5 separate regions of the Homo sapiens genome follow, and regions 1, 2, 4 and 5 are each linked to region 3. Evidence: promoter capture Hi-C in 16 types of primary human blood cells and fetal thymus (Javierre and others, 2016). All regions are on one chromosome and are shown on one strand. The core of a region is centred on a gene start or on the middle of the fragment in contact, and the rest is flanking DNA. Distances in the headings are between cores, read along the strand shown.

What was found. Contacts are between HindIII fragments. The CHiCAGO score rates a contact against its expected background, and 5 or more counts as called.
Region 1: the fragment with the promoter of CCDC25 here is called in contact with the fragment with the promoter of PURG in region 3 in 7 of 17 cell types (fetal thymus, total B cells, total CD4 T cells and 4 more); the score reaches 8.5 in fetal thymus.
Region 2: the fragment with the promoter of PPP2R2A here is called in contact with the fragment with the promoter of PURG in region 3 in 3 of 17 cell types (naive B cells, total B cells and naive CD4 T cells); the score reaches 6.7 in naive B cells.
Region 4: a contact is called between the fragment with the promoter of BNIP3L here and the fragment with the promoter of PURG in region 3, in 3 of 17 cell types (non-activated CD4 T cells, total B cells and naive CD8 T cells). The highest score is 12.0, in non-activated CD4 T cells.
Region 5: a fragment that was not itself captured here is called in contact with the fragment with the promoter of PURG in region 3 in 1 of 17 cell types (total CD8 T cells); the score reaches 5.8 in total CD8 T cells.

Annotation. Positions count from the first base shown.
Region 1 is chr8:27,771,280-27,773,979 of GRCh38, forward strand. It overlaps CCDC25 (coiled-coil domain containing 25), which reads right to left and starts at 1,361. Exons shown (of 9, transcript NM_018246.3): 1 at 1,234-1,361. The coding sequence starts at 1,261. It also overlaps a transcript of ESCO2 not described here and the pseudogene RNU6-1276P. RefSeq lists an enhancer at 1,045-1,354. The HindIII fragment of the contact is 7,740 bases long and covers 1-2,700 here.
Region 2 is chr8:26,290,258-26,292,957 of GRCh38, forward strand. It overlaps PPP2R2A (protein phosphatase 2 regulatory subunit Balpha), which reads left to right and starts at 1,251. Exons shown (of 10, transcript NM_002717.4): 1 at 1,251-1,569. The coding sequence starts at 1,563. RefSeq lists a silencer at 1,053-1,402. The HindIII fragment of the contact is 3,300 bases long and covers 1-2,338 here.
Region 3 is chr8:31,032,049-31,034,748 of GRCh38, forward strand. It overlaps PURG (purine rich element binding protein G), which reads right to left and starts at 1,308. Exons shown (of 2, transcript NM_001323311.2): 1 at 1,030-1,308; 2 at 1-740. The coding sequence starts at 734. It overlaps WRN (WRN RecQ like helicase), which reads left to right and starts at 1,762. Exons shown (of 35, transcript NM_000553.6): 1 at 1,762-1,925. RefSeq lists silencers at 1,290-1,339, 1,500-1,759 and an enhancer at 1,515-2,036. The HindIII fragment of the contact is 5,494 bases long and covers 1-2,700 here.
Region 4 is chr8:26,381,679-26,384,378 of GRCh38, forward strand. It overlaps BNIP3L (BCL2 interacting protein 3 like), which reads left to right and starts at 1,376. Exons shown (of 6, transcript NM_004331.3): 1 at 1,376-1,552. The coding sequence starts at 1,453. It also overlaps the pseudogene SDAD1P1. RefSeq lists enhancers at 1-1,052, 1,026-1,325 and a silencer at 1,536-2,125. The HindIII fragment of the contact is 3,600 bases long and covers 555-2,700 here.
Region 5 is chr8:26,574,833-26,577,532 of GRCh38, forward strand. The region is part of intron 1 of DPYSL2 (dihydropyrimidinase like 2); the gene reads left to right. Among named protein-coding and RNA genes, the nearest start is that of DPYSL2, 62 kb to the left of the region's middle. RefSeq lists enhancers at 1,285-1,454, 1,553-2,250, 2,251-2,700 and silencers at 2,055-2,254, 2,295-2,700. The HindIII fragment of the contact is 357 bases long and covers 1,137-1,493 here.

The DNA.
Region 1 (2,700 bases), core at 111-2,610, 3.3 Mb before region 3:
TACCACAGGTTTAAGTATACTCTACCGTGTTGCTACAACAATGAAACCGCCTAATGGAGCATTTCTCAGAATGTATTCTTGTCATTAAGGGACGCATGGCTACTGGTATTCCCTATATATGTATACCTATGATAAAGTTAATGTATCAGTTCGGTGGAGTAAGAGATTATTGACAATAACTAATAATAAAATAGAACGATTATAACAACGTACTGTAATAAAAGTTAGGTGACTCTGCTCTCTCTCTCTCTCAAAACCTTATTGTACTGTACTCACTCCTTTTCTTCTTGTGATGATGTGACCACGGAAAGCGAAATACAGGACAAGTAGGGACTACTGTAAAGAGATCCTGTCCACGCCCTCAAGGGACTTACACTCTAGCTCAAGCAGACACCATTTAATACCACGTGATAAGTGCAATGCCAAAGGCATACTTGGAACGTTAAGTGGGTCCCAGGAAAGGAATAGCTAAGCAATCTTGGGGTAGGAGCTAGCATCAGGAAAGGCATCTTGGAAAAGATGGGCCAAAACTGTCTTAAGGGAATTAGCTGGGGGTTGATTTTAGGAAAGGGGAATAACAGGAACAGAACGAAACCAAGTCGGGACACTGCATTTCCTGGGAACGAAGGGCACCCTTTCCTTATCTGTCAAAGATAAGTCAGAAGCATTACCATAGGTCACTTCTGAGATCTGGGACATCAACTGCCCGGAGAGTGGCTGGGTGGACATCCCAGGGTCTTTTTATTGTTTTCTGTTGCATCCCAGACCCTACAACCCCTTCCTGAAAGGGTAAGTCGCGCTTCCCTTAAGAAAAAGTTGTTAGCAGGTGTCTCCTTTCTCACAGGGGATAATTACAAGGGTTCAGCCAGAACAAAGGCCGCAGATGGAAGGTGGGAAGAAGACTTGGGATAAGGTGTGTGGAGGAGCCCACAGGCTCTGCCCAATCCCAGGGAGTGACGGGACGTCTTTCCGATTAGGGGACGAGAACTCCCCGATACAAACATAGCAGTGGCATCGCCCCTCCGCGCCCCCCACGCCATGACGAGGGGACGCCGGGGGAAATCCTGCAGCCGTGGGAGGGACGGATGTGCTGGGGGACCGAGAGGCCGCGGGAAGAGGCACTCGCATCCAGAAGGCATTTTAGAGCGAGGGTCAGGCGCAGCGGCGGACTGCGGGTCCCGGCTTCGGAGCCCGCTGTCCAGCAGGGTCCAGGAGGACGTGGCGCCCACTCACCGCTGCTGCTGGTGAAGTAGAACACCATGATCCCGGGAGCGGTGCGGTGACTCCACCGCGGAGCAGCAGCGCTCAACTCACGAAGCTCAGGATACCAGACTCGCGGCGGCCGCCTGGCCCCCGGAACTCCTCCGTGCACTTCCGGCGGACGTCGGGGCGCGTCATAACGCCGGCCGTGGGCGCCATTTTTAATCCTGGCGAGGCGAAGTGTAGTGGCAAGGAGTTTGGTTCAGTGATTTGTGGGTTAAGGGAAAGAGGCTGGGCATCTTGGGCACGTTAGTTAACCTGTCTGTGCTTCACTTTCCTCAGCAGCGAAATGAAGATGATACTAGAGCAGCTAACTCACAGGATATTTTTTAGGGTTAAATAAGTTAATGGGCGCCAAGGGTTTAGAACATAGCACACAAACGAGTTGTTTCTGATACTCACCAGGACAATATGCCTCTTGGGGATTGGACTTTGTTCTGGCTTAAATCGAAGGCCTGCCATCCCAAACCTCTGAACCTCAGAGGTCCTCCTGCTATAAAGTAGGAATAATCATATTCATGTAAAGCTCCTACAGCACTTGGCTTTGCCCTGATTATTTCTCTTGAGAAAGCACTTTTATCTGAGGAATGTGAGTCCCTTTAAATTACTAGGTCTGGAGAGGCATTAAGATAAGACCCCATCATGTTCTACCACCCCCTTGAGCTATGTATTCATCTACTGAAACTACCTGCTTCTGCCACAGGTAGCTACCTACTAACCTAACACTGCCACACAAGACACTATGACATGACCCACACCCTATAGTTTAACAATGTCTAGCCAATCACTGATGCTTGTAGTTTCTATACATCAATGAGAATGCTTGACAGTTGTGTATCAGCCCACTTCCTGCCCCCCTTCTTCGTCTTTAAAAACCTGCTTGTAGCAAAGGCCAGACAGAGCTCATATCCAAGCCTGCTGGTGGAGGGCGGTGGGGGGAGGGGGGTTGGAATCTTCTGGGCAGCTGTCCCCGCTTTAACTCAAGCAAACTCTACATTCTTTTTTTTTTTGCCTCAGCCTTTTCCTTTTAAACTGACACTCTTACATCACTGTCACTGACTTCATTCTATGAAATTGAGGGCGTCACTTAACGAAATTTATTTACATGCTTGCTTTGACAGCATGTATACTAAAATTGGAATGATACAGAGAACTTTAACATGGCCCCTGCTCAAGGATGACATACAAATTTGTGAAAATTAAATTTGAAAAAATAAACATAAAACTCTAAACTTATTTGAAACTAAAAATGTGCCAGAAACACTGTACCAGGAGCTGGTGACACAAAGATAGTAACAATAGCTAACAATAACCGTTTTAGGAACTTTCTGGTTTTCCAAAGTAAGAATTTAGCTCTGTTCTGTAAATAGCAATTGTTTTGGGTTCTCCGTTGTATTATTTGTAAAATGGGAATGGCAATAGATATTAATGCCTTACAGA
Region 2 (2,700 bases), core at 1-2,500, 4.7 Mb before region 3:
GGATCGCATTCTGTCTCCCAGGCTGGAGTGCAGTGATGTGATCACATAGCTCACTGCAGCCTTGACCTACTGGGCTCAAGCAGTCCTCCTACTGCAGCCTTCTAGTAGCTGGGACTATAGGCACGCCATCATACCTGGCTAATTTAAAAAAAAAAATTTTTTTTGGAGAGATGGGTCTCCCTATGTTCTCCAGGCCGAACTCGGAACTCCTGGCCTCAAGCGATCCTCCCACCTCGGCTTCCCAAAGTGCTGGGACTACAGGCGTGAGCCACCGCGCCCGGCCCTGAGCCCAGCTCTTAAGCACGCAGTCCAACACGTTTAGCTGGAGAGACGCCGGGTCACTTCTTGGGCCATACCCTCTCATCACAAACTCAGGTTTCTCTTAGAAATCACTCTTAGTGTCCGCAGTGCCTAGGACTCCCGCCTTGGATCCTGGGGCCCACGAGAAGGTAATTTAATTCACCCAGATAGAACCAGCCCAATCGTGTCCCTCTGAACCCCGTGAACTTTCACCCCGGCTGAGCAGTAAGTCTGCACCGCTGTCCCTTTCTTTGTGGTCTCAGGGCTAATCCAAAGTGACAATTTCCTAAGAAGCAGTACGGGGTTTTTTGTTTGTTTGTTTTTTGTTTTTGAGACGGAGTCTTGCTCTGTCACCCAGGCTGGAGTGCAGTGGTGCGATCTCGGCTCACTGCAACCTCTGCCTCCCGGGTTCAAGCAATTCTCACACCTCAGCCTCCCAAGTAGCTAGGATTACAGGCGCACACCACCACGCCTGGCTAATTTTTGTATATTTTTAAGTAGAGACGGGGTTTCACCATGTTGGCCAGGCTGGTCTCGAACTCCTGACCTTGTGATCCGCCCGCCTCAGCCTCCCAAAGTGCTGGGATTACAGGCATGAGCCACCGTGCCCGGCCCAGGTATTCCTAGAAGACATAGGACCCCATGAATCCTTGCAGGAGAGCACGTAAACTGGACTCCTAAGCCCGCCCCAGAGCCCCGGCGCTAGTGCTCGAGGCTGGGACACTGCTAGGTGCACACAGCCGCGGCCTGGCGCAGGCGGTGCGGACAGAGGGTATGCCATGGCGAGACGCTGGCGCGGCGCAGGCCCTGCCGGCCGGGACACGGAGGGCGGGGCACAGGCGCAGCAGGAAGGGGGCGTGGCCAAGAGCCGCCCGGCCGCTCCCCCGCCCCTCCCCCTCCGCTCTCCGCCCCAGCCCGGCGGCTCCGCCCCCTAGGTGACGTCACTGGCCAGGCCAGCCGGCGCCATTTTGAAAGTGGAGTCGCCTGCCCCTGCCGCTGCCGCCGCCGCCGTCGCTGTCGTAGTCGCCGCCGCCGCTGCCGGAGAAAGAGCACGAGCGGGGAAGCCCCAGAGTGAAATCTAGCATCCTGCCGGCTGGTCTGCCCGCCCCTCCTTCCTTTTCCCCCCGGCCCCCGTCCCCTCCCCCCGCAGGTGCCATCCGCCGCCATCCGCCCTCTCTACCCCCCCATCCCCAGGTGAGGGGGGTGAGTTCAGGAAGCGGAGACCCCGAGGAACCCAGCAGGGTCACCATTTGCAGCGCAACATGGCAGGTAAAGGAGAAATCCCCCTCGCCCCCTGACAAGGCACCGCTTCCTTATTCCTCCCTCCATCACCCCCTAGCGACCGCCCGCGCCTCGCGCAGAGCCACAGGGCGCCCCTCGGGTTTGAGGGAGTAGGGTCCAGAGGGGTGGGGTGGGGGCGGGGAGGGCTCCCGGGAGGCAAGTGGTCACGGTGAGAGTCACTGGGCTTGGAGAACGGGGCTGGCGCCGTGGCGGGGGTGGGGGTGGGGTGTGCCGGCGAGCTTGGGGTGAGGCGTGGGTGGGGCGGGGTGGGGGTGCGTGCAGATTTGTCCCTCCCGCTCGGGAGCCTGGTGGATCTTCTCCCACCTCCCCACCTTGCCCCCCGCCTTTATTTTTTTTTCCTGCAGGTCTTCATTTAATTTCTATTTTTCCCCCTGCTGCAAGCCTTCTTGGGTGTATATACACATTTATTTTGCCTCGAGAAGGAAGAGCGCCTTATAAGTTAAAATACAGTGGGGGCATATGTGTATTTTTTCCCCACTGTAGATGCCAATATTTTTGAGACTGGAAGCCTAAATTTTTTGTTTCGAACCATTTCGTTTCCGTTTCTTCCCTTTTACCGCCGAAGAGTGCAAGGCCTTTCATGTACAGCAAGTTGCATGAAAATAATTTAAACTTTGCGTTTAGCATGTTAGCTTTTTTGCAGATGTCCTTTTCCCAAAAGGGTTTGGTAGAGTTAGTTAAAATAGTTGCGGAGTTCAGAGATATAAATAGCAAGGAGGAGAGAGATTTAGGTAGAAGCTTTGAAGGGGAGGGGAAAGGATGTAGAGAGAAAACCAGTTTGGAAATAAATTTAGCAAGGAATAGGGGTGATGGGGGAGAGAGAAGTAATGTAATTGCTTTGAGAATTCTTTTTGTACATGTTGGTATTGCTAAATCTTTTCCTTCATGTAGTAGAATCAGTTGCAGATTTAGATTCAGTTTCTTTCTCCCTAGAGCCCCAGGACATTTTCAATCATTTCGACCTCAGTACTTGCACGTGAAATAGAAACATTCCGAGATGAGACCAGTTTTCCGTGCTGTATTCATTATTTAGATAATTAAACCTTTTGAAAAAGTTAACATGTCGGATTGACTTACGGTTTGCTATAAACAAGTTGC
Region 3 (2,700 bases), core at 58-2,557:
TCGCCATAGTCTTCAATCAGCTGAACCAAGGCATCACGAAACTCAATCATTCCTTGTGCTGGGAGGACAATAGTCTGTTCTTGGCCCAAACTGTGGCCAAAATAACCTATCATGCCAGTCCCCCGCATCATGGTTTGTCTAATCCGTAGGAAGCGACCCCGCTGATTTTCCTTTAGGTCTAGGTAATATTTCCTATTGTCCCTCTCGATATAGTCTGTTTTCAGGACACTGTGAGGATGCTCTTCGGACCCCACCGAGACTGGTGGGGAGGGTGCCGAGTGCTTCTGCCTCCTTCTGGAGCCTTGCTCTTTGCTGTGGCCATGCTCTTGCCGGTGGCCTTTCAGGCCCAGGTGGGCATAGTGCTCGATGAAGTCCCCTAGACAGTCCTTCAGCTCCGCTGCCACAGACAGGGAGAGGGTCAGTTTACTCTTTCTGATGTTGTCCTGCCGGCCTCTCCCTATCCAGACTTCGGCTATCTTTAGGAAGCGGCCCCGGGAGCTTTGCTTCACGTCTAGGTAAAACCTCTTTTTCTGGATGTCCACTCGTTTGGAGGCCAGCTCCTGGATTTCGGCTGCGCCCCCGGCCTGATTAGGGGTGGCTGAGGCCGCGTAGTGGGGGTAGTGGGAGTGCTGGGCCTGGGGATAGAGTCTACTCTTGCTTAGGCCAGAGCCCCCTACATTCTTGCCTCCGCGGCCGCGGCCGCCGCCGCCTCCCCTTCGCCTGGCTCTTTCCATCTTCAGCTGCAAGTAACAAACAGACACACGGGATGGGGTGGGGGAGGGGTGTTGAGAACAATCGCAGACGCCCCTCGGCCTGACCGCCCCGCCGCCGCCCGCGACCCCCACGCCGGGCCCGGCTCCCCCGGCGCCGCAGCGCGGGGCTCCAGCCACTGCCGGCCGGTTGGCGGCCGCCGCTCCGGCTCTGCCCGCGCTCCCCGCATCCCTCCGCCGCCCCCGGGGCCGCTCCCGCACGCCGCCGCCGCCCGTCCCGCGCTCCGCGGCCCCAGGTCTCCAGCCGGCGGGCACTCACATCATCTCTGCCATCACCGCCGCCGCCGATGCCCTTCACGACCACCGCCGCCGCCACCGCCAGCTCTCGGCCCCTCTGCTGCAGCCGCCGCAGCCGCCGCCCCCCGCCTCCTCCCCCGCCGCCGCCGCTCGCACTGCCCCCCGCCGGAGCAGCCGGGCAGGGGCATCGCCCGCGGCGCCCACCGCAGCCGCCCCTCCTGCGGCCGCTGCGGGGGCCGCCGCCTGACTTCGGACACCGGCCCCGCACCCGCCAGGAGGGGAGGGAAGGGGAGGCGGGGAGAGCGACGGCGGGGGGCGGGCGGTGGACCCCGCCTCCCCCGGCACAGCCTGCTGAGGGGAAGAGGGGGTCTCCGCTCTTCCTCAGTGCACTCTCTGACTGAAGCCCGGCGCGTGGGGTGCAGCGGGAGTGCGAGGGGACTGGACAGGTGGGAAGATGGGAATGAGGACCGGGCGGCGGGAATGTTCTCACTTCTCCGGATTCCACCGGGATGCAGGACTCTAGCTGCCCAGCCGCACCTGCGAAGAGACTACACTTCCCGAGGTGCTCAGCGGCAGCGAGGGCCTCCACGCATGCGCACCGCGGCGCGCTGGGCGGGGCTGGATGGGCTGTGGTGGGAGGGTTGCAGCGCCGCGAGAAAGGCGAGCCGGGCCGGGGGCGGGGAAAGGGGTGGGGCAGGAACGGGGGCGGGGACGGCGCTGGAGGGGCGGGTCGGGTAGGTCTCCCGGAGCTGATGTGTACTGTGTGCGCCGGGGAGGCGCCGGCTTGTACTCGGCAGCGCGGGAATAAAGTTTGCTGATTTGGTGTCTAGCCTGGATGCCTGGGTTGCAGGCCCTGCTTGTGGTGGCGCTCCACAGTCATCCGGCTGAAGAAGACCTGTTGGACTGGATCTTCTCGGGGTAAAGTGTCTTCCTATTCCCGTTTTCCCAGCTCCGTGCCCCGGGGTATCTATAGTGCTAGGCTTCTGAGACACGTGGAGGCGCTTAGGCCCGCGGAGCAGGCCCCTGGGCTGTGTTTGGGAGATTCTGGAAAAACAGACTTTCTCCCTTTTCCTTTCCCCTCTGGAGCAGCTGGGAAAGGCGTCTCTCGGAGCTTCCGCCATTCAGAAAGTGTTTCCCCGCCCCTGACGGCCCCAGCTTGATGTTTACCTTGCGCGCTTAGTTAGGATTGCTCTTTCTAGTACGGCCTTTATTATGGCAGAAATTGAGCCACTACAGGTCTGCACAGCAAAGTCGAGGGAAATAACCTGCTGTCTATGATTTAGCAAGTGATGATGGATATTTTTGAGTTCAAATCACTCAGTCTTTAATGGATTTTCTTTTCTTTTTTTCCTAGTTGAATCTCAGTTGTTCTCAGGCTAGGTTTGATATGAAAAATACTACTCCCTATTGAAGAGGGTAATATAATTCTTAGGATGCTAATACAGGAGTCTGTAAGTCGGAGTACTTCAGGCTTTTTATGGTTCGGTACATTTCTTTTTAGGGGTGGGATATTGGGATAAGTAGGACAGTTCAGATCTTGATGTCATTGAATAGTGGTGTCTACCTAAAAGGAAGAGGCTGGGGCACAAAATTATAATTTAAAGTGTTTACTTCAGCCAAAATGAGGACAGCTGCCCAGGACTCATTTCCCAGTTGCCTTGGGGAGTGCTCCTTCAGCCTTGGTTACAAGCAG
Region 4 (2,700 bases), core at 126-2,625, 4.7 Mb before region 3:
AAGAATTTGCAAAGGGATTTGACAAATCAATCCTTAAAAAAAACCTTTTAGCATGGACTTTTTCAAATATATTAAAAAATTAGAGGAATACTTTAATGTATTACATAGCTTCAATAATTACCAACACAAGGTCAATCTTGGACAAGTCCATTTTTAAGTTCATCTGAAGAGTAACTAGCCATTAACATCTGAAAAAGACAAAGGAAGAGAAACTTTAATAGTTATCTAACAGAGGTATTGCAGATAGCCCTGAAACAGACTCACATTTTTGTGGTCATTCAGAGAGTGACAAAGGTGCAATTTCAAATCAGTGTAGAAAGGATGGCTTAAAATTAATATTATTAGGTCAATGGGCTACAAAATTGGGAAGAATTGAAGTTAAATAATTTACAGCATATGGAAAATAAATTTCAGATGGATTAGAGCTCTAAATGTAAAGTTAAGCCTATAAGAAAATTAGAAAAAGTTATAAGGGAATTATAGATTAGTAATCTTGGTGTGACTGTCTCCCCAAGCCATGTAAGAATGATAAATCTGATTACATGAAAACCTTAAGCTTCTACAGAGTGAAAAAAACAAATTAAAAGACAAGTTAGAGACTGCGAGAAACATATGTCACTCATAAATCAGACCAAGGAGACTGGACGAAGACATGGAGATGTGAAGTAGGAGGTGTGCTCAGGAACATAGTTTAATGTCATCCACGTACAGGATAAACGGCTTCCCACGTCATGTCCCAGAAATCGATTAGTCGATGGGATTTGGGTGAGTACTTTCTTCTCTCTGTTTTCCTGAATTTTTCTTTTTTCTTTCTTCCCCTTTCTTCTTTCTCTTTTTTTCAGAATGATGGTGTGTTTGTAATCGACATTTTAAAAATTCTGTAACAATTAAATTTGGGGGCGGCCTTCCCTTGTTTCCCGTATGGAGTGTTGATGTTTCAGCAGCTTTATTTGGAGTTTACACGTGGAGGCACCTGGGTTTGGGGATTCCTTTGTGTCCCCAAGACACCTATTGCAGAAGTGAGTCCTAAGAGGTAGAAAACAGATGCGTGCGCAGGGCTGGGTGAAGCACTGTGGAGCCTGTGTGAGAGGAGGCACGGGCGCGAACACAGGAGCGCACTTCCTCATTCCGTTTCTCCTCATCCTCTCTCCCACTGCCACTGGCATCACTCATCCCATCCGGTCATCCCAAGTCACACGCAAGAGTTCGTTCCCGGCGCGCGCGTCAGCCTGACTCGAGCGTCTCCACGTCCGGGGCCCGCAGGGGAGCGCCCCTGCCCCGTCCGGTCGCTTGTTGTGTTGTCATCACGTGGCCTGGGCGGGCCCTGACGTCAGGGGCAGGGGAGGGACGGCGCAGGCGCAGAAAAGGGGGCGGCGGACTCGGCTTGTTGTGTTGCTGCCTGAGTGCCGGAGACGGTCCTGCTGCTGCCGCAGTCCTGCCAGCTGTCCGACAATGTCGTCCCACCTAGTCGAGCCGCCGCCGCCCCTGCACAACAACAACAACAACTGCGAGGAAAATGAGCAGTCTCTGCCCCCGCCGGCCGGCCTCAACAGTGAGTGCGGGGCCGAGGCTCTGTGAAGGGGATGGGGGAGGAGGAGCAGCCCCGGCCGCCGCCACCGGCGCGGCGCGGGAGGCGGGAGGAGAAGGCAGCTCATTGGCTCAGGCATGGGATGTCCAGGTGACTGACAGCTCCCGTCCCCTGTCAAGAGGAGGGGCGCCTGCCTTGCTCCGGGCCTCTCTGTTGCCTCCTGGGGTCTTGGGCCCGGGGCCGTTTGGGCTCGCGGTCCGGGAGCGGCGCGGGTAGCGCGGATCCCCCTGGTGCGGGGGGTGGTCCCCAGCAGCGGAGCCGGGCGGGGCGGGGCGGGGGCGGGCCTGGGGGGCGGGGAGGCCGGGTGGGCGGAGCGGGCCGCGGAGGGGACGTGGGCCGGGATGGGGACGTGCGGCGGGGACGCCGGGGGATGGACGCGCGGGAGCGGGGCGGGGCGGGCGGCTGCCGCGGGACGTGTCGGGGATCAGGTGTGCGGGGCTCGCGGGCGGGCAGCGTCTGGCGGGCGCGGGAGCCCCCCAGCGAGCATTCCTTTGTTGCCACACGTTTGTCAGGAAAATTCATTTGCTCGTCTAGGGTTGGCTTCAGTCACGTGTGGGGTGAGAGGCTGTGCCTTGCTTCTCCTTTTTCCTTTTTTATTTTTTTATTAGATTTCTCGAAGTTGCCCAAGTGATTTTTTTTTTTTTAAAGCGATGGGTTGTGCGCCCAGTAAAGCTGAGAGCAGCCTCCTGAACCACCCAAGATTGCACACGTCAGGGAGTCTGGGGCCATGCATTTAAAGAAACGGAATTAAAAACGCACTCGGGCAGTTGAAAGTTAACGGACGAGGCTGATAGACAACCCAGGCCAGGGTCTTTTCATAACATTCCGCTGCCCAGACATCTTGTCCTCAGATTGTTCCTAGTCGTGAGAACCGGGAGCCTTCTTGGAAGGGTTCTTGCCTAACCTTTCTTTAATTCAACTCTTGGGAAAGAGGTAATGGGAGCAGTGAGCATATGGCCAGATGAAGTCTTTTCAAAACCACTTGGATGCTTAAAGGTCATGCAGTATCTTTCGTAAGAGGGAGGTGCTTCCAGTGTGGCCTGAAGATTATTTTAGGGAAGAGAGTTTCAGCCCTCACCAGGTAGCGATGGAGTTTGGAGATTTTAAGATGG
Region 5 (2,700 bases), core at 65-2,564, 4.5 Mb before region 3:
TCCCAGCCTCAACTGATCTTTCTGCCTCAGCCCCAACCTTCCCCTGCCCCCAGTAGCTGGGACCACAGGTGCCCACCACCACACTCAGCTAATTTATTTTGTTTGTTTTTGTTTTTTTGAGATGGAGTTTCGCTCTTGTTGCCCAGGCTGAAGTGCAGTGGCGCTATCTTGGCTCACTGCAACCTCCGCCTCCCGGATTCAAGTGATTCTCCTGCCTCAGCCTCCCGAATGGCTGGGATTACCGGCCCCAGCCACCATGCCCGTCTGATTTTTGCATTTTTAGTGCAGACGGGGTTTCACCATGTTGGCCAGCCTAGTCTCTAATATTTGTATTTTTTGTAGAGACGGGGTTTCTCCATGTTGCTGAGGCTGGTCTCCAACTCTTGGGCTCAACTGATCTGCCTGCCTTGGCATCCCAAAGTGCGGGATTACAGGTGTGAGCCACTGTGCCCAGCCTCTCATTTATTTTTACAAGGATCTCTGAAGTAAAAGTGTGAGGCCTGTTTACCTGTGGTTTTTTGTTTTTTTTTTCACCTTCATCAGTGCAAAGCAGGTGGAAGATTCTCCTCGGCCCTTTTTTACTTTTCCTCATTGCGCTGAATGGTAAATATGGTAAGAAATGCAGGTTGCAGACAGTTCTCTTCCTCGGTCAATTTAAACCATTTGTTTGGTATCTTTTATGTGCCAAATACTCTCTTAGGCTCTAGTCAGAACAGACAAATCAGTTTATACCTTACATTTTTGGATATTTACGAGTGGAAACGTCAGTTATTATGGACTAAGAACCTCATAGCAATGGCTATACAATTGAAGCCAATGAGACAGACACAAGCTCTTGGAAGCTTTTATTACAAAACAAACGATTCTATGGTAAACTGGTAAATAACAAGATATATTTAAACCCATTACGCTCAAACAACAGGGACGGGGGTAGGGAATACAACAAGAATACAAACAATATAATTATAGGTTACTTTGTTTTAAATTAATTTGAGTCTCTTTATTTACTCCCTTGCCAAGTAGTTTTTTTGTGAGCTAATAGGACACTCCTCTCCACTGCCCTGTCCTCCGCAAAGCTGGGACTGACTGTTGGTTTTTCACAAGTAGAGAGAGGCCAAGTAGAAAGGCGTATTTTAAGCTTTCTCAGACTCGTGACTTTAACCATTACCGGTTGACAGCAATACTTGCCGACATCATCTCACCTTGCTTGCGGCATATCAGATTGCTGGAGGGGGAAGTGCTTCACTTTCTCTTTCAGATGCACAGCTAAATTGAACTTGGATGAATTAACCATCGGTGAAACTTTGTGCGTGCCCTACGGCTACTTTCTGGGACTTCAGATTTTTAGAGATATAGGAGTGAAAAGGAGAATTTTACACCTTCTCTGAGTCTGGAAGGACAGACATTCCCCTAAAGTGGCTAAGGTGGTGAAGGGCAGAAAGATTGGAAGTCAGGCCCACAGCAGCTCGAATTATTCCGTATTTATCTAGCTAAGCTTTGCTGAGCAGGTGTGAGCCAATTACATACTCTTTCTTCCCCCACCCCCCAGCCCATGATTACGTAGGGATTCTATGTATCCTTCGACCTCAAGCAGAGAAGCCCGAGCGCTACGAGGGCTGGTCCAGATGTTTTAGTTATTGTACCTGCCAGGGCAACCTCCCACGGGGGTTGGCCTCGGTAGATTCCTGAGGATCAACTGGATCAGCGTTTTTCTTTCCCACGGACCCTGAAGTTAGAGCATCCCAGCATGGCTTGGACAGGCAAAGCTAAGGGGTCCCAGGCCTGCTCAATTGCTAGGACCACGAAGGGGCCTTGAGTGCCGTTTGAAGTGACAAGGCTCTGCCTGGGCAGTCAGGACACTCTTGATTTTAACTCCGATTCAGTAGGTTTTCCCCAAGACTCAGTTTCCCTTTCCTGTGGGATATAAACTCTTCCTTTCTTGCTCCTCCACAGCTCATCTCCTCCTCTCCGCCCCACGGTGCGGTGTGGGTCCCATCCACTGGCACTGTAAACCCTCAGGACCCCGGGGCGCTGGGATCGCAGCAGCTGCCCCCGACAGCGCTGCAGGCACCAGCGAAATGCGCTGCGCCCCCACGCACCCCTCAGGGAGCCGAGGTGGGCGTGACTGTAAAGCGGGCGCACAGAGCGCAGATCGCGCCACATCGGCCTCGGCGGGCTGCGGCTGCTCCCCATTCCTCCGCCCTACTAAGTTCCTCGCGGCCGGAAGGCACAAAAGGATGTTTCAGGGCGGGGTTTCCCATACCCCGCAGCCTTCCCCGGATGCCTCCTTCCCGGCTCGGAGTTGGAAGGGTTTCCTCAGGGCTCTCATTTCCTGCAGCCCGGCGCCTCCACGCGGGCCAGATCCCGTCTCTGCAGCCTCCCCCCGGCCCGCGCCCATTCCCCGCCCCCAGGAGCCGGGCCCGGACGCTCCCGGGAAGCAGCCGCCCTCTCCGGGGCCGGGCGTGGCCGGGCCCTCCCCGCCGGGTTCCCGCCCGCCGCCGTTCCAGTCCTCAGCCGCGCCAGGGCGGGGGCCAGGCGAGTTCAGCGCCAGCAACGGCGGGGGAGGAGGGCCCGGGAGCCCTCCCGGGCTGCGCGGCGCCGGCCGGCGGTGCAGTCGCGCGCTCGCCGCCAGCGAAGCCATTGGCTCGGCGCAGTCACCCCACGCGGGGCTGCCGCGGCGGCCTCCGCGGATTGGCGCGC